Regions from separate parts of the Homo sapiens genome. Here region 1 is linked to region 2. The links are contacts of gene promoters, found by promoter capture Hi-C in human tissues and cell types (Jung and others, 2019). All regions are on one chromosome and are shown on one strand. Each heading gives the region's core, a stretch centred on a gene start or on the middle of the fragment in contact. The rest is flanking DNA. Distances are from core to core; before and after follow the strand shown.

What was found. Contacts are between HindIII fragments. The study calls those that stand out against the background at their distance.
Region 1: a contact is called between the fragment with the promoter of OBP2A here and a fragment that was not itself captured in region 2, in 2 of the 25 tissues and cell types used here (dorsolateral prefrontal cortex and mesendoderm cells).

The regions. Positions count from the first base shown.
Region 1 is chr9:135,542,945-135,548,666 of GRCh38, forward strand. OBP2A (odorant binding protein 2A) reads left to right here and starts at 3,182. Exons shown (of 7, transcript NM_014582.3): 1 at 3,182-3,308; 2 at 3,834-3,967; 3 at 4,234-4,304; 4 at 4,927-5,037. The coding sequence starts at 3,237. The HindIII fragment of the contact is 6,727 bases long and covers 286-5,722 here.
Region 2 is chr9:135,646,240-135,651,977 of GRCh38, forward strand. No RefSeq gene overlaps it. Among named protein-coding and RNA genes, the nearest start is that of GLT6D1, 9.6 kb to the left of the region's middle. The HindIII fragment of the contact is 6,544 bases long and covers 1-5,738 here.

The sequences.
Region 1 (5,722 bases), core at 1,932-4,431, 100 kb before region 2:
CTTTGATTTATTTTATAATCATTGCATTGTTTTCAGCATACAAATCCAGCATATGGGTTGTTAGACTTATGCCTAGGCATCTCATTTTTTTAGCCATTATAAATAGTACTGTGTTTTTAAGTTTAGGGTCCATTACTAGTATGTAGACACACAATTGATCTTTGTATATTTATCTTGTGTCCTGCAACCTTGCTGAACTCACTTACTAGTTCTAGGAGGTGTATTGTTTTCTTTTGTTTTGTTTTTCAATTTCTTGGGATTTTCTACAGAGATAATAATGTCATCTGCAGATGCAGTTTTCTTCCTTCCTTTCCAATTTGTATGTCTTTAATTTCCTTTTTAAAAAACCTATATTACTCTGACTAGAACTTTCTGTACTATGTTAAATACAAGTGGTAGAGTGGACATCCTTGCCTTGTCCCTGATGTTAAAGAGAAAGCATTTGTAACTGAGTATCCCAGCCTCAAAATGTGCTTAAAAACTTTTTTCCTTTCTTGCTTTCAGCCTTGAAACATACTTCGAAACTCTTTATTTCTCCCTTTCCCACCAGGCACTTCCGTGAGCAGTGCTCGCTTATCTAATTATGTGCTTACTTAGAAATTCCAGGGGCCAATTTTGAAACAAACCAGGCAGAGAGACCCAGCTGCAGAATCCTCCCTCTTAGGGGGAGTTACAGGTAGCCTACCACTTCCCGGCTGAAATCAGGATGACGCAAACCAGACCTCCGGACAGACGATTGATGACTCACAATAACCATCAGAACAAGATGCAGACCAACATCCTCCTGCACCATTCCCACATATTTCCCACACCTTTTCCTCCTTAAACCCCTTCGCTCAGTCCAGAAAATCTGAATGGTCTTTTAAAGGCATGGGTCTGGCCATTCCCCAACTGCCAGTATTTGAATAAAGCTGCTTTCCTTTTACCACACCTCACTTCTCATGCCTTGACTTCTGAGCAGCGAGCAGCTGGACTTGAGCCAGTTACACATCAGTCTTTCACCATTAGAAATAATGTAGCCATAGGTTTTTTTTTCGTAGATGTTCTTTTTCAAGTTAAAGAAGTTCTCTTCTATTCCTATTTTTCTGAGAGGTGTTATCCCGAATGAGTGTTGAATTTTGTTAAATACTTTTAACAACCCAACAGGAACCACCATCAGAAGCCATCCAGAGAAACGCACCAGGCCACAAAGCACTGGGGGCCAGGGATCTTGCCCCTGCTGTCTGCCATGGGTTGACCCCCAGCCTCCAACCCTACCATCCCCTGACGGTGTCTGCAGCAGTTGAACCCAACCAGCATCTAAAAGAACACAGTTGGTGAACGAGACTGGGACACAGGGCAAGATGGGTGGACAATGGGAGGCTCCTGGAGAGCACCCGTACCAGCGAGCATAGAATTCATGGGGGTGACCTGTTCCCTGAAGCATCTGCGCGTGTTGTTCCAGCATTTTCTTCAAGGATTGAGCCAGCAGCACCAGTGTCATACGGTGCTTAAATCAATGATTCACAACCAACCAATGAAATACAAGGTGCCGGCTGGGCGCGGTGGCTCACGCCTGTAATCCCAGCACTTTGGGAGGCCGAGGCGGGCGGATCACAAGGTCAGGAGATCGAGACCATCCCGGCTAAAACGGTGAAACCCCGTCTCTACTAAAAATACAAAAAAAAATTAGCCGGGCGTAGTGGCGGGCGCCTGTAGTCCCAGCTACTTGGGAGGCTGAGGCAGGAGAATGGCGTGAACCCGGGAGGCGGAGCTTGCAGTGAGCCGAGATCCCGCCACTGCACTCCAGCCTGGGCGACAGAGCGAGATTCCGTCTCAAAAAAAAAAAAAAAAAAAAAAAAAGAAATACAAGGTGCCTGGGGTACAGGCAACAAAAATGGGGAACGGAGAAATCTTCCCGTTGAGGTAGAGACTCCAGCCTGTTTGCTCATCTCTGGTCCTGAAGAGCCCAGTCCCCGCCCTAAGGATGGGGTTTCTGCTCGGCAGCACTTGCCGTGAGAGGGGTGAGGCACTGGGTCACGCCAGCCCTTTCTTTATAGCCCCCAGGGTTTATTAGAGTGTGCATTAGTATTATTTAGCAAGCACTTGAGGGTGTCTGATCTTGGGCCAGAGAGGCACAAAGATTGTGTGGGCCCAGCACCTGCCTGCAGAGCGTGGGTCAGCCTTGGGTCCCAGGGCAGATGACGCAGGCCCGGGAACTACAGGGTCCAGGAGGGAGAAGGCAAAGTTCTGGCTCAGGTTGGCTGGGGATGAGGCCAGCGGAGCCAGGTGCCCAAGGGAGCTCAGCCACAAACTCTGAGCACAGGCTGGCAGGTGGCTCTTGATGCTCATGCCACCCATTTATCTAAAGGGATGAGATTCAAGGCCTGTCCCGGTGGCTGGGGGCCGTCGAAGCTGACGAGAGAGGGGATGTAGAGTGAATGTATATTCCACTCTACCACTTGTATTTAACAGGGAGATGGATGATGAACACGTGCAGGAAGAAACAGGCAGGACAATCCAGAGAGATCACGTGTTCTGAGGACAGCACAGCCAGGCTCCGGTACGGAGTGAAGCGGGGTGGGGCAGGCGGCGGGGTCCCTCATATGGCCCGAGGAGGCCGTATATATACTGACCTTGAACCACACAATAGTGCCCTTCTCTGCCCCTAGGAAGCTCGAGTGCAGGGTCCAGGTGGGGAAAATCAATGCAGAGTGGGTCCCAGAGTGGGCGGAAGCTTGGGCTCTAGGGCGTGCGGGACTCAGCTGGCAGCAGCCCCACGTCTCTATGGTTCTAAAGCCCAGTCCATTTCTGCTCAGCAGGGAGATGGCCAGTTCCCCAGAGGACTTGCCCAGGGTCCCAGCCGTGGCCCTGGGAGGGCTCAGGGGTGAGGGAGGAAGAATTCCGAGCCGTGGGCCCTCCCTCTGTGGCTCGGGGTGCAGACGTGCACTACCCTGCCCTGTCCTCTGGAGTCCTCCGGGCTCATCCAAGTGGGCGCATTTGGATGCAAACCCTGGACAGCATCGTGTGTCTTTTCTTCTCTGGCTGGCACTGAATTGCTGTTCACCAGATGCCAGCAATGAGGACACTCCCCCTCCCGGATGCAGGACTGGTTGCCACCATGGGGAGGGGTGCACCGTGCCACGTGCTCCCAGGACACTGGCCAGGGGGCTATAAAGAACATCTCGAGAGGAGCCAGCACAGCCTTGTTCAGACGCCCAGTGACCTGCCGAGGTCGGCAGCACAGAGCTCTGGAGATGAAGACCCTGTTCCTGGGTGTCACGCTCGGCCTGGCCGCTGCCCTGTCCTTCACCCTGGAGGAGGAGGATGTGAGCTGGGTTGGCGTGGGCGGATGGAGGAGCCAGGTGGACTCCTGGGCAGGGGGCAGTGCCAGGGGCCCTGCTTTAGGAGGTGTCACTGAAGGCTGGCTTCTGACCCCGTGCTCCCAGCCTGGGGTGGTGGTGGAGGGGTCCTATTGTTCCTCCAGCAGACACGGCCCCCCGAGGCCCAGGGCCGGAGCAGGCTCGGCTCAGGGGTTCCTGCTGCACTGACGCCTGAAGCCCGAAGGTCTCGCAGGGTTGGGCCCTGTGGAGGGAGGGCTCACCTGGTGCTGGGGCCCGGGGGTCCATGGGGTGCAGACATGCCCTCCTTCCACTGGGGGCTGGGAGCCCTGAGCAGGGGGCTGGCTCTAACTCACTCCAGCTGAGCTCTAACTAAGGTGCAGGAACCCAGCCTGCCTTTAGGGGTGGCAGCCGGGCACCATGGGTGTCTGGTTATAGCTGCAGGCCTGAGTGCCAGGGTCAGAGTAGAATCTGGGCCACCCATGGTGGGCTCACGGCCTTGGCCTGCTCCAGATCACAGGGACCTGGTACGTGAAGGCCATGGTGGTCGATAAGGACTTTCCGGAGGACAGGAGGCCCAGGAAGGTGTCCCCAGTGAAGGTGACAGCCCTGGGCGGTGGGAACTTGGAAGCCACGTTCACCTTCATGTGAGTGTTGCCCACTGCAGGGCCCCTCAGGCCACTTTCGCTCCCCGCCCCAGACCCACCTGGTGCCCATTGCCCCATCCACATTTCGGGTGTTGGGAAGAGTCACCCCCTGCCTTGGAGGGAAACAGCCAGGACATCCTGAAGCTCGGTGGGGTGGGGGGGCAGTGGAATTTTCAGGTTGCCGGGTCAGGGCCATGCACCAGGTGAGCTGAGGATGGGCCAGGTGTGTCCTGGGAGCCGCTGCCCGAGTGTCTCCTGTTTTCCAGGAGGGAGGATCGGTGCATCCAGAAGAAAATCCTGATGCGGAAGACGGAGGAGCCTGGCAAATTCAGCGCCTGTGAGCCCCTCCCCGACCCCCCACTCCCCATGCCCAACCCCGGATGCACCAGCCCCACTGCAGGTGGAGAGTGCCCAGGCCACACTTCTGCCAGGGTCCCAGCCCTGCCCACCTCCAAGGAGGGGCTGGCCTCTCCTTCCTGGGGGGCTGGTGGCCCTGACATCAGACACCAGGTGTGACAGGCTTGTCCACAGTAGAGATGGACCAGATCAAGCCTGCCCTCTGGGAGGCCCTAGCCATTGACACATTGAGGAATCCGAGTGTTAGGGACCAGGAGGCCGAGGGTTAGGGATGGGAAGCCAAGGCTGAGGGTTTGGGATCAGGAATCCGAGGGTTAGGGACAGGGAAGTGGGGCAGGAGCAGCTGCTGGAGCTGGGAAGGCCGGACTCTAGTCCTGGACGTGCTCTGGCCTTGTGGCTCCATTACTTGCATTGGGACCTTCCGAGAGGAGGCTCCTGCCTCCGTGTCCGGGTCCATGCTGTGCGGAGCAGCCAGGCCTGGCTCAGGCTGTCCAGGGCACCTGGGTGACCACTGAAACATTCCTGAGTGTTTCTTCGTGTGGTCCTGAGTGCTCTCTCCGGGAATGAGGGCACTGAAGACCCATCTTCTCTGTCATCTACAGATGGGGGCAGGAAGCTCATATACCTGCAGGAGCTGCCCGGGACGGACGACTACGTCTTTTACTGCAAAGACCAGCGCCGTGGGGGCCTGCGCTACATGGGAAAGCTTGTGGGTGAGGGGCCCGCTGGGGCCTGCATGTCCTGCCCCATGGTCTCTGCCTCCAGAAGCCAGTGGAACCACCATCATCACGCCCTGGCACGGGGGGAAAAGGAAGCCCCCTGCGCCGGCCTTCGTGTGCTAGGCACCAAGCGCTGCCCTGGATGGCTGGTCCAAGTTCCTGAAGTGGGAGTGGGGTGGGCCAGGCAGGGACAGACACGGCCCTCGGTGACATGAACCTGCCAAGGGCCGCTTGTGGGGTCTCAGGTGTAGGGGCCTCACCTTAAGGGGGAGGTAGCATCTTAACAGAGCTCTTCATGGGGCAGGGACTCTCCAGGGCGGCAGGGCAGCCAGTGCCTCTGGGACACAAGGTCCCTCCAGGTGAGGGTTATGACCCTGCAGAGTGGCTTTGGGAGCTGCCCAGGTCCCCCTGGGGTTGCTGAGTGGCTTGGACCCTGCCACTGTCCCCTTTCCTGGGGACCTCTCACCTGGGCGGTGGCCGTCTCCTCTGTCCCCAGTCCCACCCCTGAGCTCTTGTCCATTCTCAGGCCTCCTCTCCCCCTTGCCTGGTGCTGGACAGTTGCCATCTCTTCTGTCCCCAGCCCCACCCCTGAGCTCTGATCCACTCTCGGGCCTCTCCCCCGTCCTGATGCTGGGCCGTGGTCGTCTCCTTTTAGCATCTGCTCCCTGCAGGGCCGTGC
Region 2 (5,738 bases), core at 1,597-4,096:
TCCTTCTTTTCCCCACCAGCCCACTTCTCCCTTTTAAATATTGAGGCCCTCAAAGTCATCTTTGGAGAAAGACACAGACCACAGACTGTTTCTGTGATTCTGGTTTTCTTTTCCTTAACATTGGCAAAATAAACTTCTCAATTGATTAAGACCTGTCTCAGATACTTTTTGACTTACAAATTGTGACCAACAGAAGGAACTCTGAGTGGAGGTGGTCCTTTGACAAATCTCCTGAGGACTAAACTCTGATTTTTTTTTTTTTTTTTGAGACCGAGTCTTGTTCTGTCACCCAGGTTGGAGTGCGGTGGCACGATCTCAGCTCACTGCAACCTCTGCCTCCCAGGTTCAAGCTATTCTCCTTAAACTGATTTTTTATCATGCCCAAATTCCTATCTAAGGGACCTGGGGAGTCATGCCATACAAATCATAAATTGTCATTAGCTGGGTTTTATTTCACCCTATATATTGTGACTTACTTTCCAACCTGTCTCTGGCATAACATTGTAAGACAAGGACGAAAATCAAAATGTTTGACCCCCAAAACATGTTTCTTTGCCATATCTTGAAATGGCCCTGTAAAGTTGTCCTTTGTGGGGGAAAATTTGCATCTCTAAATAATCTGAATTAATATAGCTAGATCTTTTTCTTCCAGGCCCTCCCAATCCTAAAGAGATTAACTAAAAGTCTAGCACCTTTTAAAGATCTGAATAGGAAACATTTGCCATCTATTGTCTCTAAGGGCAGCCACTATAAGACTCTAAAACAACCTTGGTCTCCACAATCTTTTATCTTAACCTGAATATTTCCTTTCTATAATCCCAGGTCTTTAGACAAACTCAACCAATTGTCAACCAGAAGATGTTTAAATTTACCTATAACCTGAAAGCACCTGCTTTGTCCACCTTTCTGGTCCAAAACAATGTATTTCTTAAATGTATTTGATTGATGTCTCATGCCTCCTTAAAATGCATAAAACCAAGCTTGTATAAAATGTATAAAACCAACCGCCTTGGGCACATGTTCTCAGGCCCTCCTGAGGGCTGTGTCATGGGCCATGGTCCCTAGTATTTGGCTCAGAATAAATCCCTTCAAATATTTTACCAAGTTTGATTCTTTTTGCAGACACTCCTATCGATGCTCAGTATCAGTTTGGGCTATCTTTATTGCTCAAATTAATAGGACAATTTGCTGAAGTCCGATTTGCTGAAGTCCAGGAGTATCCCCTTCTACCCCAGAGAATCCCTGATCTCCCAACATTCGGTTGAGATCTGAGGTTTCTTTTGCTGAGCAACTCCTTTTCTGGAGTTTCAGCTCGATTCCAACAGGGAAGGCGAGTTTGGGACTTTTCCTGTTTCTGAGACAGTAGAGAGCAGTCTTCAGCCTGGGCCCCATTTCTAGGTAAGTAGCTGAATTGGAGTTTTGTCTTGAAAATTCTCCCTCATGACTAAAAGTTAAGATTGACCACCGCCTGGTCTTCATTTCTGCTTCCATTAGAGAGCTCAGTAATCATATTGCCAGAAATTATAAGTTCCTCTTCAAAGCTTCTTTGGTCTTTCTTGCTCTGTACACAGCCCTTCCTGCTTAATCTGTAATGAGCACTTGTTTTTCTGCTTAATCTGTAACCTGCAAACCTCTTACTCTGTAAACAACTCTTCCCACCTAGTTGGTAAGGAACAGCCTCTCCCTTCCCGCATAATTGGCCTTATTCAATTTCAAACACTAGCCAATCGGGTCAGTTTAGACTGTGCAGTCCAACTCCAGCCAATGGGGAAAGGACACAGAAACAGGAACTGCATCAGCCAATGGGGAAAGGACACAGAAACAGGAACTGCATTAGGGGTAAAAACCCCTGCCCTCCCAGCTTGGTGTGCTCTTGCGATTGTGACTGATGCAGGCAGCACCCTTCTGCAGAAGTAAATGTGCCTTGCTGAGAAATTTTCTGCCTGGTTTTCTTTGCAGCACCAAGCATTTTTTTCTAACAATATAGTTTGGTTTCATTGTCGTTTTGGTCTTTCTCCCATTGGATTTGACCATCTCTACCTGACTTGGCCAAATCTGAATGAGAATTCCACACTATGGGTAACAAGCCCTCTGGATTGGCTAAAATTCCTTGAAGCTGCAAAAGAGAAAAAAAAAACATTCACTTGATTTCTCTGTGTGCTTCCTTTCTTAAAAAATTATTCTTTTATTTTTCTTCCACCCTATTTCTCCCAAAAAGGGGAAGCCCTTTTGCCATCTTTGGTACCAAGTGAAAAAAATGTCTACAGAAGGGTTCTAATTGAAGCGGCGTTGTTGTCTGGGGTAAATACCTGAGGTTTGTCATCTCACACCAGGGAAGTTGAGGATGCAGACACACAAGAAGTGAGTTTAAGATCAGAGGCTTAATAGGCAAAGGAAAGAGAAAAGAGGATAGCTCTCTCACCTGCGGAGAGAGAGGGGCGTCTGAGTGGGTCTTCCAGGTCCTTGGTGAAATGCACGAGGTTTTATAGACGAGCTTGAGGAGGCAATATCTGATTTACATAGGACATGAGAGATTGGTCAGACTAGGCATGCCATTTGCATAGTGCACAAAGAAGCTGGCCGACCCACCCTAATCTTTTATTATCCAGATGGGGTCTCTACCTGGCCAGTGTCATATTGCCTGCCTTTTACCACACAGGTGGCGACCAAGAAAAGGGAAGGGGGATCCTTCATGTTGAACAGACTTGGCTTCCAGGTATCCCTCTTCTATCACCACAGCTGCTAGCATTTACCTATGTAAGCTTTTAGCTTGTTTATCTATACTTGCAGCTTGATTTTTCAGGCTGCTTTTTGTTAGGAAAGAAATGATTGGGGGCTGCTTTTTATTAAAAGGAAACCTTGCTGAGGACTCTCTTACCCTCCTTATCTGCCTGAATTTCTTTCTCACTCCTGTATCATAATGACTTGGATCCTTAAATAACTCAGAATAAAGGCACCACTCACCCTGTGCGGGGGTGTTCTGCTTTCTGTGTGGAGTTTTCAGAGTCATGGCAGGTTTTTCTTAGGTCTAAAGTTCTGCTTTCCTGTATTGCATTACTTGACTTCTTTGACTTTTAGAGATACCAGAGATTACTCTGTACTGTGAGAATATTTGACCTTGGTGTGTGTCATGGCAGATGAGAGCTACAACGTTAGGGAAGGCTGAGGACAGTTTACAGGAAATGGTCATTACTACAGGGGGCCACTCATTGCACATTTAGATCAGAAAATTGTGCATGCTTTCTTGGCTCTGTTCCTTAGAGGGCTCCACCCTAAAGCCAGTGACCTAATCAAGCTCCGCTGAAAATACTACCTATCAAACTAAGTCACTTCAATAAAATTCTGTGTAAAGGAAATTTATGTCTTTAAAGGAAATTTCCATTTTGTAAGGACATCTCTGTCTCTGCGTCTAAACCACTAGGAACTTTAACTAAGGGGGAGACAATGGCTTCATTTACATAACAGACCTTGCCTTTTTTAGATCCAAGTCTGTGCCTTTGAGATGTACATTTTTTACCTTGCTTCACCTAAGTCATGTATTTGGAGATGTAAATTTAGAGTTACCTAGTTAACAATTGTTTAAGACATGGAATAGATAATCAAGAGATTAGTGGTATAAAGTAGGGAAGAAAAAAACTTTGAAAACAGGCAAGTGAAACATTTTAAATCCCTAAGATTTGCCTCTGTCTGTGTCTGTTAAGTCTGTGTGTTTATGTGTCACATGGAAACAATATTTCACTACCAATCATATGAAAGAGCTCTAATTAGTTGGCTTAAAGAAAAGTAAGTGTTTGTAGACTAATAGAAGCTAGCCCAGAGGCCTTTCAGCTCACATGACTTTAGTAATCTTTGGTAAGATTAATTTGGTAAATGTAATCTCACAATTCTCTCCAGTAATTGAAAATCTTAAAGTCATGTTGTGTTAAATTAAGTCATCCTAGGTTTTTTGCTGGAAATTAGGGTTTCTAAGAGAATAGTAGGAAAGTAAGATGCATTTTTGGTGAAGTTTATTTAAAAAACATGAGGATGTGGTTTTTGCTCAATGAAACATATTTTTTTTCTAGTTTAAAGGACCTTTCTGCTGGTGTCGAAGATAAAAACCGCTATTCACATCCAACCGTTCTTTTGTAAACTGGTGAGTTTGCATTGGTACCTCCTGGCTGGAATTCCAAGGCAAAAGCTATGGGACCTTTATTTGTGTGTGTGTGTGCGCGCACGCGTGCACATGTGTGATTGTGCGAGTGTGTGTGTGAGTGTGCATGTGTGTGGTGTGTGTGCGAGTGTGTGTGTGCATGTATGTGAATGTGTTCATGTGCATGTGCAAGTGTGTGGTGTGTGTGTGCGCAAATGTATGCATGTGCGTGTGCGAGTGTGTGGTGTGTGCGAGTGTGTGTGCACGTGTGTGTCATGTGAGTTTTGTGTGTGCGAGTGTGTGCATGTGTGGTGTGTGCATGTGCGAGTGTGTGTGCAAATGTGTCAGTGTGTGCATGTGTGTGTGCGTGTGGTGTGTGTGCATGTGTGTGAGTGTGTACGCGCGTGCATGCTTAGGTGTGTTTATGTGTGCATGCGTGTGTTTTGTTATGTGTTGTGACCACAAGGTACCAAATTGGCTTAAAAAAAAAGGAGTGCCAATAAATTAAGTAAATAAGTGCAAATACTTTTCAAGTTCATATGACTTCAGTAAATCTTTAATAAATAACCTAACTTTAAAATAATTGGTAAAATAAAATTAGAAATGTCTTCAGAATTGTCAACATACATTATTATTTAGATTTATTGGTCTAATGTTAATTTAATAAAAACAGTAAATCCTGTGTTATTGGCCAAAAAATTCATTTATTTAACCTTAAGATTCTTACTTAGGTAAACACCTGAAATTCACTGGCTATAAAAATGGTCAACAAGGAAATAACTTTAAATGATGACTGTAAGCCAAAATATATCTGAGACAGGTCCCAATGAATTTAGAAGTTTCTTTTGCCAAGGTTAAGGACATGCCATGTGAGCCCCCAAAATCTGAGACAGGTCTCATTTAATTTAGAATGTTAATTTTGTCAAAGTTGGGGACATTTGTCCACGACACAGCCTCAGGAGGTCCTGATGACAGGTGCCCACGGTGGTCCAAGCACAGTTTGGTTTTATGCATTTTAGGGAGACATGAGACATCAATCAACATACGTAAGATGAACATTAGTTCAGTCCGGAAAGGCGGGACAACTCGAAGCTGGGAGGGGGGCTTCCAGGTCATAGGTAGATAAGAGATAAATGGTTGTATTCTTTGGAGTTTCTGATGAGCCTCTCCAAAGGAGACATCAAATATGTATTTAACCCAGTGAGCCGAGGGATGATTTTCAATAGAATGAGAGGCAGGTTTGCCCAAAGCACTTCCCAGCTTGACTTTTCCCTTTAGCTTAGTGATTTGGGGGGCCCAAGAGATTTTCCTTTCACACCCATGACGCAGCCTCAGAAGGTCCTGATGACTTGTGACCAGGCTGGTTGGGCCACAACTTTTTCACACATTTTAGGGAGACATACGACATCAATCAATACATGTAAGATGTACCTTGGTTCAGTCCAGAAAAAGCCAGACAGCTGGAAATGGGGCCTTCCAAGTCATAGGCAGATGCAAAGATGTTCTGATCAGCAGTTGGTTATTACCTAAAGACCTGAAATCAGTAGAAAGGAATGTCTGAGTTACGATAAGGGGTTGTGGAGACCAAAGTTTTATCACGCAGGTG